7 separate regions of the Homo sapiens genome follow, and all the other regions are linked to region 5. The links are contacts of gene promoters, found by promoter capture Hi-C in blood cells and fetal thymus (Javierre and others, 2016). All regions are on one chromosome and are shown on one strand. Each heading gives the region's core, a stretch centred on a gene start or on the middle of the fragment in contact. The rest is flanking DNA. Distances are from core to core; before and after follow the strand shown. Region 1 holds the start of MRS2 (magnesium transporter MRS2). Region 2 has its middle 2.1 kb from the start of GMNN. Region 3 holds the start of TDP2 (tyrosyl-DNA phosphodiesterase 2). Region 4 overlaps ALDH5A1 (aldehyde dehydrogenase 5 family member A1). Region 5 holds the start of E2F3 (E2F transcription factor 3). Region 6 overlaps MYLIP (myosin regulatory light chain interacting protein). Region 7 has its middle 3.4 kb from the start of C6orf62.

Evidence for each region. Contacts are between HindIII fragments. The CHiCAGO score rates a contact against its expected background, and 5 or more counts as called.
Region 1: a contact is called between the fragment with the promoter of MRS2 here and the fragment with the promoter of E2F3 in region 5, in 3 of 17 cell types (M0 macrophages, M1 macrophages and M2 macrophages). The highest score is 7.4, in M0 macrophages.
Region 2: a fragment that was not itself captured here is called in contact with the fragment with the promoter of E2F3 in region 5 in 1 of 17 cell types (fetal thymus); the score reaches 9.7 in fetal thymus.
Region 3: the fragment with the promoter of TDP2 here is called in contact with the fragment with the promoter of E2F3 in region 5 in 4 of 17 cell types (fetal thymus, M0 macrophages, M1 macrophages and 1 more); the score reaches 16.3 in fetal thymus.
Region 4: a contact is called between a fragment that was not itself captured here and the fragment with the promoter of E2F3 in region 5, in 2 of 17 cell types (fetal thymus and total B cells). The highest score is 9.8, in fetal thymus.
Region 6: a fragment that was not itself captured here is called in contact with the fragment with the promoter of E2F3 in region 5 in 1 of 17 cell types (total CD4 T cells); the score reaches 6.2 in total CD4 T cells.
Region 7: a contact is called between a fragment that was not itself captured here and the fragment with the promoter of E2F3 in region 5, in 1 of 17 cell types (fetal thymus). The highest score is 19.6, in fetal thymus.

The regions. Positions count from the first base shown.
Region 1 is chr6:24,401,518-24,404,217 of GRCh38, forward strand. MRS2 (magnesium transporter MRS2) reads left to right here and starts at 1,419. Exons shown (of 11, transcript NM_020662.4): 1 at 1,419-1,719. The coding sequence starts at 1,530. RefSeq lists a silencer at 4-298 and an enhancer at 2,056-2,700. The HindIII fragment of the contact is 7,340 bases long and covers 1-2,700 here.
Region 2 is chr6:24,771,487-24,774,186 of GRCh38, forward strand. No RefSeq gene overlaps it. Among named protein-coding and RNA genes, the nearest start is that of GMNN, 2.1 kb to the right of the region's middle. The HindIII fragment of the contact is 2,016 bases long and covers 356-2,371 here.
Region 3 is chr6:24,665,636-24,668,335 of GRCh38, forward strand. TDP2 (tyrosyl-DNA phosphodiesterase 2) reads right to left here and starts at 1,264. Exons shown (of 7, transcript NM_016614.3): 1 at 1,063-1,264; 2 at 891-976. The coding sequence starts at 1,227. ACOT13 (acyl-CoA thioesterase 13) reads left to right here and starts at 1,442. Exons shown (of 3, transcript NM_018473.4): 1 at 1,442-1,709. The coding sequence starts at 1,629. RefSeq lists enhancers at 310-982, 983-1,654, 1,186-1,480. The HindIII fragment of the contact is 8,130 bases long and covers 172-2,700 here.
Region 4 is chr6:24,520,935-24,523,634 of GRCh38, forward strand. It overlaps ALDH5A1 (aldehyde dehydrogenase 5 family member A1), which reads left to right. Exons shown (of 10, transcript NM_001080.3): 7 at 1,833-1,991. Among named protein-coding and RNA genes, the nearest start is that of ALDH5A1, 27 kb to the left of the region's middle. RefSeq lists silencers at 101-150, 1,520-1,569. The HindIII fragment of the contact is 1,335 bases long and covers 709-2,043 here.
Region 5 is chr6:20,400,479-20,403,178 of GRCh38, forward strand. It overlaps E2F3 (E2F transcription factor 3), which reads left to right and starts at 1,401. Exons shown (of 7, transcript NM_001949.5): 1 at 1,401-2,147. The coding sequence starts at 1,755. It overlaps LOC124901482, which reads right to left and starts at 2,294. Exons shown (of 3, transcript XM_047419652.1): 1 at 1,947-2,294; 2 at 1,791-1,902; 3 at 263-1,684. The coding sequence starts at 2,294. The coding sequence ends at 1,077. RefSeq lists silencers at 976-1,215, 2,066-2,535 and an enhancer at 1,314-1,838. The HindIII fragment of the contact is 2,252 bases long and covers 219-2,470 here.
Region 6 is chr6:16,129,598-16,132,297 of GRCh38, forward strand. It overlaps MYLIP (myosin regulatory light chain interacting protein), which reads left to right. Exons shown (of 7, transcript NM_013262.4): 2 at 960-1,150. Among named protein-coding and RNA genes, the nearest start is that of MYLIP, 1.9 kb to the left of the region's middle. RefSeq lists a silencer at 1-170. The HindIII fragment of the contact is 1,493 bases long and covers 519-2,011 here.
Region 7 is chr6:24,721,178-24,723,877 of GRCh38, forward strand. No RefSeq gene overlaps it. Among named protein-coding and RNA genes, the nearest start is that of C6orf62, 3.4 kb to the left of the region's middle. RefSeq lists enhancers at 1-500, 246-1,039, 631-680, 731-820. The HindIII fragment of the contact is 1,539 bases long and covers 482-2,020 here.

The sequences.
Region 1 (2,700 bases), core at 169-2,668, 4.0 Mb after region 5:
TGGGGCTCAAACCATAATACCCCAAAATATGATGTTTTGGCATGCTGAGTCTTTGGGGTTTGTTTGTTTTGAGATGGGAGTCTCACTCTGTCGTACAGGCTGGAATGCAGTACAGGCTGGAATGCAATGGCATGATCTGGGCTCGCTGCAACCTCCACCTCCTGGATTCCAGCAATTCTTATGCCTCAGCCTTACAAGTAGCTGGGATTACAGGCACCTGCAACCACACCCGGCTAATTTTTGTATTTTTAGTAGAGACGGGTTTTGCCATGTTGGCCAGGCTGGTCCTGAACTCCTAACCTCAAGTGGTCCACAACATTGGCCTCCCAAAGTGCTTGGCTCCCAAAGTGCTGGATTACAGGCATGAGGCACCACGCCCGGTGGCATGTTGAGTCTTTGAATTAAAGGAAATTAAAAGGGTCTCAGAAAGAAGCCTAAAAATCAAGGCCTCTCTCTCTCACCTTCCCCCTTCCTTTTGTCTCTCTGATACTCTTACTTTTTCCAAGCACCTGAAGGGGCTCTCTTTTCCTGCACAGCCAGATAAGGAATTTCCTTATCTGACAGAGAAAACTCTTTTCCAAAGAAATGCAATTGTCTTAAAACCCGTTCCTTAGGAATCGCATTAAATAATCAGAAGAGATTAATCACCCAGAGAAGAGACAAAAACTGAAAGTCATAGCCACACTGAGACTTTTCATAGATACTTCTGAGGGTAGCTCCAAGAGATTACCTGGGAAACTTTACCTGTATAATAGGACAATTTTTGTTCAGAGTGAAGTTTCACAGCTTGTCCACAAGCGATTGTTTGTACTTCTGTCCCACTGAATGTCCAAGGAGAATCATTTGCAAACCACTGTCTGGCTTTCGGGCCCATTCATACCTATCTCCCTCTACTCAACAAAGAAGGGTATACAAGCATCTGGACCTTAATTGAGTTATTGAGTAATCACTCTTCTGTGATTTTTCCCTATGCACGTTAAGCAAATTTTGTATGCCTTTTTCTCCTGCTAATCTGTCTACTTAGTTCATTCCAGCAACTTTCAGAGGGCAAAAGTAGGAGCTTTCCCTCTTGCTCCCTACACCACGTTAAATTTAAATATAAATTAAATGATGTGGGAATGGGTAACCTGCTCATTTCCAAACTGCAATTTTCATAGGTATGAAAATTCTCCACAAACTACAAAACCATGACACTCCAAGCGCCCAAGAACCTAGGTTGGACAGCTCACTTAGTGCAGGTAAACGTGCTCCACCCATCTCCCAGCCCGCCTGCCCCCTCACTTAGGTACAGGTGCAGGTACAGGTAGGCAAGCAAACGTCTATTGGCTGTGGACTTAACAGGCTCGCCCACAGGTACCTTCCGAGCATGCGTGGGGAAGTAGCACGCAGGCGCGGCACGCCCCGCGCATGCCTGGTGCACAGAGTCTGCAGGTCGGGCGGTAGCGACAGGTCAGAGCTGCGGCCTGAGCAGCCAGCGTCCGGCATGAAGGTCTGGGGTCTGGCTGCTGCCTGCTTCTTGCTCCAGCACCATGGAATGCCTGCGCAGTTTACCCTGCCTCCTGCCCCGCGCGATGAGACTTCCCCGGCGGACGCTGTGTGCCCTGGCCTTGGACGTGACCTCTGTGGGTCCTCCCGTTGCTGCCTGCGGCCGCCGAGCCAACCTGATTGGAAGGAGCCGAGCGGCGCAGCTTTGCGGGCCCGACCGGCTCCGCGTGGCAGGTACTGCCCTTCCCCGGCAACAGCCTTGGGACGCTGGTCTTGCAGTGACCTTAGACTGCTGCCCCAGCCGTCCGGCGCGGCGCGCCTGTTGCTCCGCGCCCTCCGCAGGCCTCGGCCTCCCGCGTGTCCTGTGAGCTTGCACAGGCCCGCGGGCCGAGCTGCGTCCCACTCGCTCAGAATGCGACCTTGCTATGTGCGCTGTGCCCTGCCGGGGTCCCAGCGGCCAACCCTCTGCCTTCTCCTCCACCGCCCTTGCTGCAGATTATGTAACCATAGGAACAACCTAGGAATCGTTTACAGACCGTGATCACGTTAGTTAACACCCGCTTAAGTGCTCTTGTAAGAGGTTTTTTCTGTGTTGTTTTTGAGACAGGGTCTTACTATGTTGCCCAGGCTGGACTCAAACTCCTTGCCTCGAGCCATCCTAACGCATTAGCCTCGCAAAGCGCTGGGATTACAGGCGTGAGCCACCACACCTGGCCGAGAGGTGTTTTTAAACAAGGATTTCATCTGTTCGGAAGTCATAAGTATAAATTAATACTTCCCTGTTTTCTGTTTCTTCGTTATGGACACATTTATACAGTTGTCCAGTTGCACGGAGATTGGGGACGCACCTAGAAGTGAGGCTAAAGACTGAGTTGTTTCTGAGAACGACTTACTTTCAACTACAGTACTCTATAAGTAAACAGCCAGGGAGATCGGATTGAGAAAAAAAAATCTTATTTGCTGTTTATTTTTTCACCAAATGTTGAAGCATGGTGAAAAGTTAAGATTTTCACAAATGTGAGTGCAAATATTTGAGGAATAAAAGGTATTGAAATGAATGACTTTATTAAGAACATAGCAGTGTCCTCAAATATGTTTTCTCAATTGTGCTCTCAAAAGCCTCCCAAAGTAACTCCTCGTCAGCACCTCATTCTCCACTTATTGGAGAGGCTAAGTTGGGTTACATGCTCTGCACCCTCAATTGATAATGCTTGG
Region 2 (2,700 bases), core at 114-2,613, 4.4 Mb after region 5:
CATTGTCATCTAGAGGCTTCATTGGAGAAGGATCTGCTTCTAAACTCATTCCAATTGTTGGGAGAATTCATTTCTTTGGAGACATAATACTCATGGCCGCTTGCTTCTTCAAGGCCAGTAAGAGATACATCAAAAAAAGTCTAAGCCCTCTGTTGAAGGACATCCTAATGATTACGTCAAGGCCAACAGGATAATCTCACTTTCGATAATTTAAAGTATACCGATTTGGGGCCTTAATTACAATTATAAAATCCCACCACCTTTGCCTTATTGAATAACCTAATCATAGGCATAATCAGAGGTCAGAGATAATGGGTGGCATTTTAGAATTCTATCTACTGTAAGTATGTTGTCAAGCTTTTCTATAGCTGCTAGTCTGATAGTTGAAATAGTTTTTCAGAGTTTTAATTTGCATGTCTCTTATTCTCAGTAAAGTTGAGCATGGTTTTGTATGTTTAAGGACCATTCCTCTATCGTTTTCTCTGAACCGTCCATTCCTGTCTTTTGCCGATTTATCTATTGGGCTGTTGGCTTCTCCCTCTCAATGTTTTATAGCTCTTTAAAAATTAGGGAATGTAGTCTTTTATGTGTAAAAGAAATTCCCTATATTTTCTCTTACTTTATCATTTGTCTTTGCTTATGGAAATCATCCGATTTTTAAAATACAGACAATTTCCATTTTAAGACAATGTGTAGGCCACAATTGTGTATGTGAAACAAAACATATTTAATGCCCAGGGGCCACCTTCTAGACCATCTTCAATCCTTTAAATAATTCTGCACTAAAATAATCCCCTGAAGATCCTGAGTATATTATTCTTTTTTTTTTTCTTTTTGTTTGAGACGTAGTCTCACTCTGTCGCCCAGGCTGGAGTGCAGTGGCGCGATCTCCGCTCACTGCAAGCTCTGCCTCCTGGGTTCACGCCGTTCTCCTGCCTCAGCTTCCTGAGTAGCTGGGACTACAGGCACCTGCCACCATGCCCGGCTAACTTTTTTTTGTGTTTTTAGTAGAGATGGGGTTTCACCATGTTAGCCAGGATGGTCTCGATCTCCTGACCTCGTGATCCACCCGCCTCGGCCTCCCAAAGTGCTGGGATTACAGGGTGAGCCACTGCACCCGGCCAATCCTGAGTATATTATTCTTAACATCATCTGAGTCTCAAGTCCCAAAACCTTCATTAGTAATGTGTTTCATCATTTCACTTCTCTTAGCTGTGCTTATACTCATCAAAGAAATGGTTTGTCAAAAAATAAATTGGTGCAATGTAATTATTATTTATCCATCTGAATAAAAATAAAAATAAAAAAATTGGTGTAAATATTTGTGGTTGCTAAAGTTTTGTTTTGTTTTGTTTTGTTTTGTTTTTGAGATAGAGTCTCACTCTGTCACCTGGGCTAGATTGTGGTAGTGTGATCTTGGCTTACTGCAACCTCCACCACCTGGGTTCAAGCTATTCTCCTGCCTCTGCCTCCTGAGTAGCTGGGATTACAGACGCATGCCACCATGCCTGGATAATTTTTGTATTTTTAGTAGAGACAGGGTTTCACCATGTTGGCCAGGTTGGTCTTGAACTCCTGACCTCAGGGTGATCCGCCAGCCTCAGCCTCCCAAAGTGCTGGGATTACAGGCATGAGCCATGGTGCCTAGTGGTTGCTGAAATTTTTATGGCTAAACATTTTCCAGTATTTCTACCTCCTTATCCCATCATTTAATCCTTTTTAAATTAATATTTTAAAAATTTTATTATTGGCCAGGTGCAGTGGTTCACGCCTGTAATCCCAGCACTTTGGGAGGCCAAGGTGGGCAGATCACACGATCAGGAGTTCAAGACCAGCCTGGCCAACATAGTGAAACCCTGTCTCTACTAAAACTACAAAAAATTAGCTGGGTGTGGTGGCGGGCACCTGTAATCCCAGCTACTTGGGAGGCTGAGGCAGGAGAATCGCTTGAACCCGGGGGGGGCAGAGGTTGCAGTAAGCCGAGGTTGCACCATTGCACTCCAGCCCTGGTGACAGTGCAAGACTCCGTCTCAAAAAAAAAAATTATTATTGAAAATCCCAAACAGATATAAAAGTAGAGGGAGTGAATAAAAAATCTTCATGTACTCATCCATACTAGCCTCAGCAGTTATCAACACAAGGCCAATACTGTTTTATTCGCACCAGTGGTTCTCAACTGGGGATGATTTTGCCCTGCGGAAGGTTATCTGACAAGGTCTGCAGACATTTTTGGTCTTCACAATTGGGATGTACTCCTGGTAGCTAGAGGGTAGAGGCCAGGGATACTGCTAAACAGCATACAATGCCCAGGACAGCCCCCACCACGAACAATTTGCCCAGTCTAAAATGTCAATAGAGCCCATACTGAGAAAGCTTGATTTATACCTTTTCCCTTGCTTCTCTCAATAATTATTTCAAATAAAATATATGGTATAAAATTTCATCTGTAATTACCATTTATAGGTAGAAGCTATTACAATAAAACCCACAATATTGTCATTACAACTAATCTCTTTTTTTAACCCATTGCTCATCAGGTAACCTTAAACAACTCATATCTTACCATCCCAAAATATTCAGTCAGTGTTCAAATTTCCCTTGGGTATTTTTTTAAATACAGTGTTTAGTTCAGACGAGATCCATACATTGCATTTGGTAATATGTCCCTTATTTGTACTCGATAACGCCTTCCTTCTGCTT
Region 3 (2,700 bases), core at 14-2,513, 4.3 Mb after region 5:
AATTAACAATGTACAAAACAGATACTCCTTACTAGATGTGCAGTCTAGTAGGAGACATAAAATAATGAACAGCAATTATAATACGGACTAAGGTATTGTAACAGGGGTCATGCAGGATGCTATAAGAGTACCTAAAAGGGGACTCTTACCCAGACTTAGGACATCAGGAAAAGCTTCCTAGAGATAAATCATGTCTCAGCTTGGGGCTTTAAGACAAATATTAGCAAGGAAGGGAAAAGAAAAAAATTCCAGGCACAGGTAATAAAGATCTTTACGAAGTTTCAAAGACAGGAGAAAATGACCCGTTGGAAAAAAGTAAAAGTTTGATAGGCCTGGAACCTGGAAAGGCAGGTTCTAAGTTATGGAGCCAAATAGTAGAGGGCCTTGTAAGGCAGCTACACTTTTTAAGTGCAGGAACTGGAGAGGGGCACTGAAATAACAGGAGTAGGTGTGCATTAAAAAAAAATAACAACAACAACAAACCTGTTATTCTGGCCGGTCAGCCTAGGGCCTAGAATAAATAAACAATACAGGAAGCAAGGAGACTTCCAAGTTGCCATTTTTCGATAGAAGGTTTAGCCTTCGTTCATTTGTTTCAAACCTCTCGCTTACTTATTTCCTTTCATTTGAGTTAAACATTACATTTCCATCTTTTCCTCCCTGGACCCCAAATCACGTTCGAAGCGACAGTCTGGTGCAGTGTTAGATCCGCTGCTGGGGCGCAACTCCGCGCAGCAGCAGCAACGCAAGCCCTGCTCCTCTGGCTACGCAGCTTGGAGATCTGCCTCAGCATCGTCCGCCCAGCTCCACGGCAGGTCCCAGGACGCGCAGGGCTACCTGGTATCAAACTGCCTCCGTGCGGACTGGCTCCCGCTCCCCTCATCACTTACTAGGTCTTGGGCTCAGAGATGGTTTCAGGTCGGCGTTCCAAGGCGCTCTCCTCCACCGGAGGCTCGAAGTAGGAGTTCAGAGCCCTCTGAAAAACAAAGGCACAAGGGATGAGGTTTGTGCGCTCCACCGACCTAGGTAATGGAGCCGGAAGCGAGGACAGCGAAAGCGTACTTCCATCTCCCAGTCGTTCTCGGCCAGGAAGCACTGAGCCACTGCGGCATCGCAGCTTGCGACCGAGGCAAACTCCACACACAGAAGTCGCCGCTTTTTCACCTCAGGCTCGCCCTCTTCCTCCGCCGCCTCCCTCCCGCCCTCCAGGCAACTCCCCAACTCCATCTTCCTGCCGCCTCTGCACCGCCCCTTTAAGCGGAACAGGAGGCCAACGCGCGGCTCTGCGCAGGCGCCTGTGTCATGGCGCTCCCGCATCAACCGCCCGGCGGGGAAATGCGCTGCTCTCGGAAAACTGGTGCAGCTGCGCCGCAAGGGAGCCGCCGGGGCGGTGGGTGCGAAGCGCGCATGCGCGCTTCGTCACAAGGGTGCGAGGAAAGTCAGTGAGCAAATCGCGGACCACCGGGGCTGCCAGCTCGCCTGACTCCCGGCCTCTTGCGCTCCTAGGGGCGGAGAAGGGTGCGGGCTCTTCGCCCTTTGTGTCCTCCTTCTTTCACTAACTTCTGGACTTTCCAGCTCTTCCGAAGTTCGTTCTTGCGCAAAGCCCAAAGGCTGGAAAACCGTCCACGATGACCAGCATGACTCAGTCTCTGCGGGAGGTGATAAAGGCCATGACCAAGGCTCGCAATTTTGAGAGAGTTTTGGGAAAGGTATGGGAAAGGTAGGGGAGAAGCCGTGGCTTCTAATGAAGGAAAAGAAAGCACCGTGCTTGGTGCCGTTGTGAGCTTTGAATAATTATCTCTTGTTAGGTTGTGTTCTAGTACGCCTGTAAATTCACCTTAGTAATAATGATTATTACTTTAATGGAGCCCCTAAATATGCTGGGTCGAACGCGTAAGTTCTCTATCTAAACATAGATAAGTATGGTTATGACTCGTGGAGACAGTTCCAAGGCTGGGAGGGACTTTGGAGTTTGATCCTTCAACCAACAAACGTCTGCATTGCTCCAGAGAAGAGTAAGAGAAACCTCTGCATTTAAGGCACATTACAGTCTAATTCTCTAGGCTCTAGAAGATTAGAAGATAAATAATTGCAATAAGGTACAAAAGCCAAGTGCTTGGTAGAGTGGTGAACGAAGGGAGAAGTTGTTCCTCTGTAGTGGTTTGGGAAATTTCTCAAAGGCACCCAACTCCTGAAGAAGTAAGTTAGCCCTTGGAGGAAGACTGAGTGCTTTTCTGAGACCAGCACTCACAAAGCCCGAAGGTGTTTGTTTGTTTTTGTTTTTTTAGGATGAGGTTTCGCCCTTGTTGCCTAGGCTGGAGTGCAATGGCGCGATCTCGGCTCACTGCAACCTCCACCTCCCTGGTTCAAACAATTCTCCTGCCTCACTCAGCCTCCCGAGTGGCTGGGATTACAGGCATGCGCCACCATGCCCAGCTAATATTGTACTTTTAGTAGAGACAGGGTTTCTCCATGTTGGTCAGGCTGCTCTCGAACTCCCGACCTCAGGTGAAACGCCTGCCTCCGCCTCCCAAAGTGCTGGGATTACTGGTGTGAGCCGCCACGCCAGACCTTGAAGGTGTTTGTTGTTGTTGTTGTTTTGAGATGGAGTCTTGCTCTGTTGCCCATGCGGGAGTGCAGTGACACGATCTCGGCTCACTGCAACCTCCGCCTCCTGGGTTCAAGTGATTCTCATGCCTC
Region 4 (2,700 bases), core at 126-2,625, 4.1 Mb after region 5:
TTTTCTTTCATTGATCTTTTTTCTACTGAACGGATATAATCTCCTCAGACACAGAACAGCCTTGAACAATTGGGGTCTCTGAGGCCAAGGGAAAGAAAGTAAGAAAATGTTGAGGAGGGTGGTGGCTGGAATAACTCAAAACCCTGTTGCCTGCTATGACCCAGTGGGGCCTCGCTGTCCCGAGATGGAGGGAGCCTCAGAGGTGCCCTCTACAGGGCACAGGCCCACGCCAGCAGTGTTTTAGAGGAGCATCCAGGCTGTCCTGGGAGACCAGAGGCCTGAGCTCATGTCTTCCTAGGAAATCCTGGAATATTTGATCTGTCAGGGACCTTCACAGTTATCAGCTCTACAAACGTTGCATTTTAGAGATGAGGAAATGAAACTCTAGAAAGAAAAAGTGACTTAGAGATCAGACGTCTTTGGGCCACAGTGTCAAATCTGCTGAGGAGCTGGGACTCTGAGCCAAGGCTCCTGTCTTCCAGTTCTATCCAAGCTGCTGCCAGGGTCCTGCCTTCTTAAATATTCTTAAGCATTCATCTTAAAAGTACCATCAATATGTAATTTTAAATGCATTCTAGAAACAGAGTAAATATCCCTGAAAGGTTATATTGTGAAAAAACTGAAATGTGTGATATTCTCTATCAAATAATTTTCATCCTTGCCTTGGCCTTTGGTAATTAAGTTTTTCCCTTCCACATAACCTAAATAAGCTTGGTTTTGTCTGAAATAAGTATATTTTCCTTCATAAATACAAAATGTCAATATATGTTACCATCAATTACACTGTAAGGCTACAACTTGGGGACAGGTATGGTGGCTCAGAACTGTAATCCCAGCATTTTGGGAGGCCAAAGCAGGAGGATCACTTGAGCCCAGGAGTTGGAGACCAGCCTGGGCAACAGAGTGAGACTCTGTCTCTACAATTTTTTTTTTTTTTTTTTTTTTTTTGTGTGACAGAGTCTCACTCTGTTGCCCAGGCTGAAGTGTAGTGGCATGATGTCAGCTCACTGCAACCTCCACCTCCCGGATTCAAGAGATTCTCCTGCCTCAGCCTCCTGAGTAGCTGGGACTACAGCTAATTTTTCTATTTTTAGTAGAGATGGGTTTCACTATGTTGGCCAGGCTAGTCTCGAACTCCTGACCTTAGGTGATCCACCCACCTCAGCCTCCCAAAGTGCTGGGGTTACAGGCATGAGCCACTGCGCCCAGCCAAAAAAAATTAAAAATTAGCTGGGCATGGTGGCAAGTGCCTATAGTCCCACCTACTTGGGAGGCTGAGGTGGAAGAATCACTTGAGCCCTGGAGGTCAAGGCTGCAGTGAACTCATCACTACTGCACTCCAGCCTGGGCGACAGAGCGAGACCCTGTGTCAGCAAAACAAAAGACTATAAGTTGGTGTTGGACCACATTCCTCTTAGCCTCTGCTGTTGCTGCAGCATCACAGTCTCCTAGGAGAATTGCACTCTTTCCCCACCCCCCAGGGAAACAAAATAAAAGCCATTTGAAAAAAACATGGATTGGGTGGCTTTTTTTTCTTTTCTTTCGTGTGTGTGTGTGTGTGTGTGTGTGTACAGGTGCTTATTGCCAACTAATCACTGATGCATAGCAGCTGTGTAGCATAGCAGCTGTGGAGGGAACTGGAGGGGAACATGCACTGACTCAGTGCTTTTATCTTTGGGGCCAAGCCCACGTGAGGAGGAAAATGGCAGTTTGAGCACATGACAACCACCGAGGGAAGTGTTTTCACAGAGAGGCGGTAGCAGCCACACGTTCACTGGTCAGGTCTGCAGCTTCTGACAGACTGTGTGGGTTTGTTTTTGTCTCCTGTCCAGACTTGTGTTTGCTCAAACCAATTCTTGGTGCAAAGGGGCATCCATGATGCCTTTGTAAAAGCATTCGCCGAGGCCATGAAGAAGAACCTGCGCGTAGGTAATGGATTTGAGGAAGGAACTACTCAGGGCCCATTAATTAATGAAAAAGCGGTAGAAAAGGTAAGTATATTGTATTATTTGTGAAAGTAAATTTCATGGTTTCAATATGAAAAGCTTAATCAGCAAAAAACACTTTGGCTGGAGGGGTGGGGATAGAGAGGGGTGGGTTGACAGAATATTACAGCTAGACAGAAGGAATAAGCTCTGGTGTTCTACAGCACTGTAGAATGACTGTAATTAGCAACAATGTATTGTATATTTTCAAATAGCTATTATTAGAAGAGTAGATTTTGAACGTTCCCAGTATAAAGAAATGATCAATGTTTGAGGCGATAGATGTGCTAACTATCCTGATTAGAGTATAGAGTATGAGAGATCTACATCTATACATGGAATCGAATGGAATTTTCAATGATGTTTTCATACAAAAACCACAAAGGTTAAAATAAGTAAAAAATTAATAATAGCTAAAAAAAATGATGTTAAAAGGCAAAAAAAAAAAATGAAAACAAAAAAGTCATTTTGGTAAAGTGCCCAGCAAGCCTATTTTGTAAACAATGGAGAAACCTGAGAAAAGTGAATTCTGCCTACCAGTTATATGAATCGGGTTGTTGTCTGGTCATGAGCTGCTATAGCCCTGCCATTGCACCAAGTCCCCATGCGGTCTGTCACTGTAGCTCTTTACTGTCCTCCCTAAATTTTGTTATAGTGATGATAATTCTATCCCTCACTGCCTCAGCAATTAGGATCTTGAGACAAAGTTCATTCA
Region 5 (2,700 bases), core at 151-2,650:
GTCAGGTGTTTCATAGCACTCTGAGTAAGAGTTTTGGGAAATTAATAATAGTAATAAAAATCTTGTGAAAGGGCTCAAGGTGTTGCAATCCTCATCACCTATGAGCACCAATTCTGCAGCTGTTTTGCACGTAACTATAAATTATGATCTAGTCTCTACATACATAACTTCCCCCACATTCCTGCAGGGGTCTCTTTTCCTGCTCAATCTCAGGAGCAAGCTTTAATTTTAAGACCCATGAATACTTGAACAAATTCAGGAGTCAGTTTGACACATCATTTTATATTTTTCTGATGACAATTTCTAGTTTACTTTTTAAAAAAAGACACTATTTTAAAAATACTTTGGGATAGGTTTGAGTCGTTGTGTTTGCTTCCAGTCAGAGAACTTCCTACAAAACTGAAGATATAAAGTGCTGATGCCTGGGCGTGCCTGCGTTCGTTGGGGGCACGACGTCATCGTGGGAAGCGTGTACTTTTTCGGATTACTGCTTGGCGGATTAGAAACCCGTAGATCAGTTCTAGGTTAGCCCTGATTAACTGCCCTGGGTGTTTCTGGGCCAGAGGGAATGTCTGCTGGATTCAAACCAATATCCGTTGTAAGACAAAAGAGTTAATTTGTACTTTACCCCTATCCAGGCTAATAATGAAGGTACCGGGAATGATCTGGAATGTTAACTGGTGCCCGCAATCGCGTCTGCTGAACCTTCTGCCCCCACGATTCTGTCTGCCCACATGCTTCTGTCTATCAGCCCCGGCCTCGGGATCAGCTCTCGCCGCGTCATTGGTTGGATTTCAGGAAGGGAGAAGCCCACGATTTAAAGGGCTCCTTTTGCACCTGCCAGACATCGTCCGCATGGTCCAACTTGCCTTTGGCACGTATCTGGAAAAATCTCCTGCGCTGTTCGTTTATTGCACTGACTGGTCAAAGGAAAGAGTGTTCCCTTAGTCACCTTGACAATTTCCAAAAGCGAAACTTGGGCTCTAGACTAGATCTACACTGAGTCTGCGGGGCGCGGAGTCCCTGCCCAGGTCAGTAGCGCCGGCCCGGCGGGCGGGCGGGGACAGGGGCGGAGCCTAGGCCAGGCGTGGTCTTCCGTGGGAGAGAAGGAAATTCTTTGCCCCACCCCCTAAAAACTGCTCTTCTGCCAGCCAATCAAGGAGGCCTATGCAAATAGGGTCCCTGTCGCCCCGGTAACCATGATGCACGGCAGCCAATGGAAACCAGCAAGTCGCGGCCCTGCTCCATGATTGGGACTGAAGTAAGGAGGTAGCGGCCCAATGGGCTGTGGGAACGGTCCTCGGCGGGTTGAGGGGCGGGGATATGCAAATATGGTTTGAAAAGCCGGCGGGAAATCCGAGTTTCGCGGGAGGACCTTGGCGCGTAAACCGTATCCCTTCATTCATTGTCAGCAGCAGCTTCCTGGAGCCATTTTTCAGCTGCCGGCCGCAGCACCCGGGCTGCCGCCGCCGCCTCGCAATCCGTTGCATCGGCCGCCCCCGACGCCTCCATCCCCGCTTGGGGCCCGATATCCGTGCGGCCGGGACCCTCCTCTCTCCAGAGCCCCGATTATTTTTGGCCCCCGGGGCCTGTGCGGTGCGGAAAAATAAAAAGAAAAGAGAGAGAGGGGGCTCGGAAGCGCCGGGCGGGGAGGAGAGAAGGAGGAGAGACTTGGAAACTCCGACTGCAAATAATAAAGAAATTGAAAACAATACATTAATATACCATAACACTAAAAAGAGCAGGAGCGAGAGATGAGAAAGGGAATCCAGCCCGCTCTGGAGCAGTACCTGGTGACCGCCGGGGGTGGGGAGGGGGCGGCTGTCGTCGCCGCCGCCGCTGCAGCCTCCATGGACAAAAGGGCACTGCTAGCCAGCCCCGGCTTCGCCGCCGCCGCCGCCGCTGCCGCCGCCCCGGGCGCGTACATCCAGATCCTCACCACGAACACTTCCACCACCTCCTGTTCCTCCTCCCTCCAAAGCGGCGCCGTAGCCGCCGGCCCCCTCCTCCCCAGTGCCCCCGGCGCGGAGCAGACCGCCGGCAGCCTCCTCTACACCACGCCGCACGGACCCTCCAGCAGAGCCGGGCTGCTGCAGCAGCCACCAGCGCTGGGACGCGGCGGCAGCGGCGGCGGCGGCGGCCCTCCGGTAATACCCTCCCTCCCCACCGTCCCCAGCCCCGGCGGGAGGTGGGCTCGCACCGCGCGGGGTCGTGGGCGCGCTGCGGGCCGCTCGGGGAGAGCACTGGGCCGAGCATCGTGGGCCTCGGGGGCTGCCCCTCCAACGAGGGTTCATTGTTAGACCTGAGTGCTCTTCCCGGCGCCAGGAGGGTCGGGGGGCTCGGCCAGGCGCGCGGGGCGGCGGGGATTGCCTTGGCGCGAACCACATCAAACACTCCAAAACTTTTCGCGGCCCCCCCTTCTTTTCCTGCACTTTTCCCTACCCCCACTCTCCCTTCCCCTCCAACTCGAAGCTTCCTCTTTCTCGGGCGTAGGAAGGGGTCACGCCCCGGATGGAGAAGGGGGTGGGGGAGGGAGTAGTGAACTGGGGTGTGGGGGGCTCTGAGGGGTTGAAACCGGGGGACTGTTGGGGTGCTAGCCCCCAGTCGGCCTTGGAGGCTCGTTGGCGGCCGGGGGTCCCTGCGGCGTGCTCGGAGCGCAGGGGATCGGCGGGGCTGCGCTTGACACATTTTAGGATCTGT
Region 6 (2,700 bases), core at 15-2,514, 4.3 Mb before region 5:
CGCGGAGAAAGCGCGCAGCGGGGGTCCCCAGCGCTGAGGGCCGGGCGCAGCCCGCAGCCGGGATCCACCCCCCAGCGCCCCATCATCCCCCCAACCCAGCACTTTCCCGGAAGAAGGCGGCTCCGCACACCTGCCGCAGGTATGTGCGTGATGCCGCCTGTCGGGTCCCCGCGGCGCCTGGCAGTGCCACCCGCGTGCCAGGATGGGATGGAGTGGCTCGAAGCAGTCTCGGGCCCCAGGGGTTCTTGGCAGACAAGCCGGGCCCTTGTCTCACGCTGCTTCTCAGGCTGCTGCTCTCAAATGCACCGTTCACCTGCATCTCCGGGTTTGCGGGGGACGGGAGGAATAGGTTTGGGTCATCTACTGCTCGGTTGTTTTTAAGCATGTGTTTCCTTAACAGTGAGGGAGATCGGTGCCAAATAGTGCAGAGGTGGTATGGCAGACAGCACATGTGATCCCAGGAAAACGCTGTGCCCTCAACCCCTCTAGCTCTGAGATGTTTGGAAAACCGCTTGTGAAGCTTAGCTGACACTTGTGGCGTGTTCCCTCAATGTGTTTGATTTTTGGAGTCCAAATGGTTAAAATTGCCCAGATAATAAGTCGCCAAAAATCAGCTGTGCAGAGTATGCTGGTGGAGGGAATTCCGGTGATTGGAATACGAAGGAAAATACCCTGTAGTTTCCCCTCCTCATCTTTTGGAAGGCTACTTTTGAGGACTCCTTTTTTCTCTATTGCAATTGGTCATGCCCTAGACGTTAAAAGGAATTATGAGCCTCCATACTAGAGCTCGTGGTTTGGTATCATTGGAGCCGTGGAACTTTGTTTTTCCAGTTTAGATCAGGAATTGTAACACCATTGAACTTTGTAAAAAGCACCAGCAATCTTAGCCTCAGGGAGCCGTTGGGTTTGCTTTGATACGTACCATTTGCTCATCCAGGCTGCATTCCTTTTTGTTTTAGGTGTGCAGGCGACTGGGAATCATAGAAGTTGACTATTTTGGACTGCAGTTTACGGGTAGCAAAGGTGAAAGTTTATGGCTAAACCTGAGAAACCGGATCTCCCAGCAGATGGATGGGCTAGCCCCTTACAGGCTTAAACTTAGAGTCAAGTTCTTCGTGGAGCCTCATCTCATCTTACAGGAGCAGACTAGGTAAAGTGAGCTAAAATAAACCAATGTCAAATTGACCTTTGGTTCCCTTTAGAAGGGCCGCTGCACCTTCCCAGAGATACTCACAGGCAAGTTTGTTTTGATGCGGAGTTCCATCTTAACTTAGGTTTTCCATGCAGGTCCTTTTGTTGAGGTGGAGGGGGAGCTACCTACTTGGTCTGAGTGCATTTTCCAATCCTTCTTTTAGTTTTTCTTGTCTTTATAAACTTGATGGGTGAGCAGGGTTGAATTCTTACAAACACTTGAGATAAGTGCTACCCCAGGAAAAAAAAAAAAAAAAAAAGAAACCACCCTACCCGAGTGACTGACTTCCTGATAGCAGCATCTAATGCCCGATAGTAACCTCTGCCTCAGCAGTGTTACTATAGGTCATTGCAGACTGTTCTAACAGAAAGCAGGAAACAGTTCCTCTTGGGTTACTTAAACTTGGTCAGTTTCTTCAGCCTAGTGTCAGATTACAGTGTGCAGCCAAGAGCTCTGTTTGACTTCATGCAGAATTTTTAAAGTTTTTAAGTTTCTTGAAAATGTAATTTCATGAACTCTTCTAAGGCTACTGTAACTGAATTCCAACCCACAGATATGTTACACACGATTGGTGAGTATAGATTGAATTTATCTCTCTACGTTGTAAAACACCACCAACAGTGGTAGACAACTGAAGCATGTGGTCTCATTTTTCAAACAAAATATGTTCTCCCCTGGACTGACTCTAATACTTGATTCTCAAGAATGAGCCAAACTAGGAAATTGATATTTAATATTTATTGAAAGGCAGGAGACTTCAATCTTACAGTGGCATATCAAAAAATTAAAAAGGAAAACAGCTACTTTGAAGACATAGCAAGCTTTGGATCTAAGTTCTAATGTTTTTCATAATTCTTTGGCTGAGAAATTTGCCATGCATATGAAAAATGTGATTCTAAAAATTTTAAGTAATGATGAATGAGCATTATCCTTTAAGAGTTTTTTACATGACATTTGCTTGTTTGTTTTACCAAAGGACTGATAAAGACTCATTTTGAAATACTTATCATTTGAATTTGAAATTTCCACTTTGCCTTGTAATCGAGCTTTAAAGGTTGAGGCAGACGTTTAATTTTGTTTCTGAATGAAGATGGTATATTGAGTTCTTGGTACTCCTGAAAATATCTTGCAAAATATTCAAGTGATTGCATGCTTAAGGATGTTTTAGCTGTCTGTATTAATCAGAATAGACTTTTTAAAATTATTATTTAAAGCCGATTTGTGAAAGCTTTGCGCTTCACTGTCATAACTTGCAGTCGAATACAAGATATAACACAACATATTGGAATTTTCATTGTGTAGTCCTATTATGATTTTGTAATTATTTCAAGATCTCTAGATGCAACCCAGTTTTGATGGCACAAAATTATTTTTTAAATCTTCAGAAGCTTGGAGTACCAAATAACTGCATTTAAACAATGGCTGCAGTGATAATAGCATAATACATTTGTTTTATGAATGTATTCAGACTTTATAATTGACTAGTAGATGGTCTCTACCTGTGCTTT
Region 7 (2,700 bases), core at 1-2,500, 4.3 Mb after region 5:
GGGGCTCCCCGCCACTCCTTCCGCCCCCCTTCTTCAGGAAGTCCCAGTCTCCTGAGTTGGCTCTTCGCCCCGCCCCGATGTCGTCATAAAAGCACGCCCTCAACCATCCTCAACAAAACACCCGGATGGAGTCGCACTTCCCGAGTCTCGTCAGCCTCTCAGAGTCAGGCTGGGCGCGTGACAGAGCCGAACTAGCGACCTGGGCGGGCCAAAACTGCGGAAGTCGGCGGAGAGTGGGCGAGGGTAGGGGCGGAGCAAAGAAGGAAAAGGAAAGTGTGTGTTGGAGATTGGAAGATTCTTATTTCGATTCTTATAATTAGTTAGTCCTGGGGGTCGGCCCCGCGGTATCCTGCGGCAACAAACCTAGAACTCAATTCGACACCTGGAATTTAAACGGCGTGCGGGAGCAGATGTCTCATGTTAGTGCTACTTGCCTCTGTCCCCACCCCGCCACGTGCGCAGGCAGGGAGGGCGGTCCTCAAGCTTCGAACAAGGTCAAAGACGTTGTTCAGACGTTGCTGCTGTGGCTTAGGAGAGGAGCAGCCCAGTCTGACTCGTGGATTTTTACCCACTGCTGTCAGAACACACTTTCTGTTAGAATCCCCCAAGACCTCAGACCTACAGCCTGCCCCTTAGGTGGTTCACTGTCTTCATCGAAACGTTTGCCGCCGAGTCGCACGTCCTTGGCACCAAAAAGCGTTGAGTCCATTTTTCAAAGCTCTAATGTGCTCTTTAAAACACAGTTATGTAAGTACTTAGCAAAGGTCAATACTCCACATAAGCAATGCTTATATACTCATTGGCTACTCTGAGATTTTAGAAGTCCATTGGGACCCCAATTACTACTTTTCACTTCGTGAAGTCAAAACAGATCAGCTGTAATAACATTATTTCAGCCATGAGCCAAAAGAATAACTGGTACCCACCCTTCAATATAAATTGTCCAGAACCAAAGGATGAGTCCTGAGATTTCCAAATAACTTCTAATCTCGGAAGATACAGCTTGCATTTTGCTAGTGCTTTGCTGATTTGTTTTCAAAATCATGTAACTATGGAAAGCTCACAGAGATAAAACAGAAAATGTCACGTAGTTTAGAGCATTGGTTTAAAAAAGAAAGATTTTTAAAAGTAAGCCGAGCATGGTGGCTCACGCCTGTAATGCCAGCACTTTGGGAGACCGAGGCAGGCGGATCACCTAAGGTCAGGAGTTCGAGACCAGCCTGGCCAACATGGTGAAACCTCGTCTCTACTGAAAATACTAAAATCAGCCTGGCTTGGTGGCAGGCGCCTGCAGTCCCAGCTACTCGAGAGGCTGAGGCAGGAGAATCGCTTGAACCCGGGAGGCGGAGATTGCAGTGAGCCGAGATCGCACCATTGCACTCCAGCCTGGGCAACAGAGTGAGACTCCGTCGGAAAAAAAAAAAAAAACAAACAAACATATGAGACATACAAGCCAGTATGATCTTCAGGTGATCCGCCTGCCTCAACCTCCCAAAGTGTTGGGATTACAGGCATGAGCCACCATTCCCAGCCGGCTTATATGTTCTTGACCTGGCCTTGACTTGTATCCATGATCAACTTCATGGAAGAATTTTTAAAATAACAGCTTTATTGAAATATAATTCACATACCGTATTTATCTACTTGAAGTGTACAATCCAATGGTTTTTAATATATTCAGTGTTGTGCAGCCATTACATTACCCCAAAAAGAAACCCTGTACCTATTAGCAGTCACTTCTCTTCTTTCTAGTTTATGTTCTGTCTATAGATTTGCCGTTTCTGAAATTTCATATAAATGAAATCATTTAATATGTGGTCTTTTGTGACTGGCTTCTTCACTTAGCATAATGTTTTCAAGGTTCATCCATGTTGTAGCATGTATCAGTACTTAATTCCTTTTTATTGTGGAATAATATGTATTGTATGAAATTCTATATTCATTCATCAGTTGATGGACATTTGAGTTGTCTCTGCCTTTTGGCTGTTATAAATAATGCTGCTATGAACATTTACTTAAAAGCTTTTGTATAGACGTATGTTTTTAATTCTCTTGGGCATATACTTAAGAGTGGAATTACTGGGATATATGTTAACTCTATCTTTAACCATGTGAGAAACTGCCAGATGTTTTCCAAGTCTGTTGCATCATTTTACATTTCCTCCAGCAGTGTATTCCAATTTCTCCACATTCTTGTTATTATGTCTTTTTTAGTATAACCATCCTAGTGGGTATGATGTATGTCATGGTGGTTTTGATTTTCCTTTCCCCAACGATTAATGATGTTGAGCATCTTTTCATGTGCTTATTGGCTGTTCTAATATCTTCTTTGGAGAAATGTCTATTCAGAACTTTTGCCCATTTTTATTTATCTACTTGTTTATTTATTTATTTTTTGAGACAGAGTCTCGCTATGTTGCCCAGGCTGAAGTGCAGTGGCATTATCTCAGCTCACTGCAACCTCCGCTTCCTGGGTTCAAGCAGTTCTTCTGCCTCAGCCCCGAGTAGCTGGGCCCACAGGCCCCCACCACCATGCCCGGATGATTTTTGTATTTTTAGTAGAGACGGAGTTTCACCATGTTGGCCAGGCTCGTCTCAGACTCCTGACCTCAAGTGATCCACCCACCTCGGCCTCCCAAAGTGTTGGGATTACAGGTGTGAGCCACCAAGCTCGGCCTTTTACCCATTTTTAATTTAAAA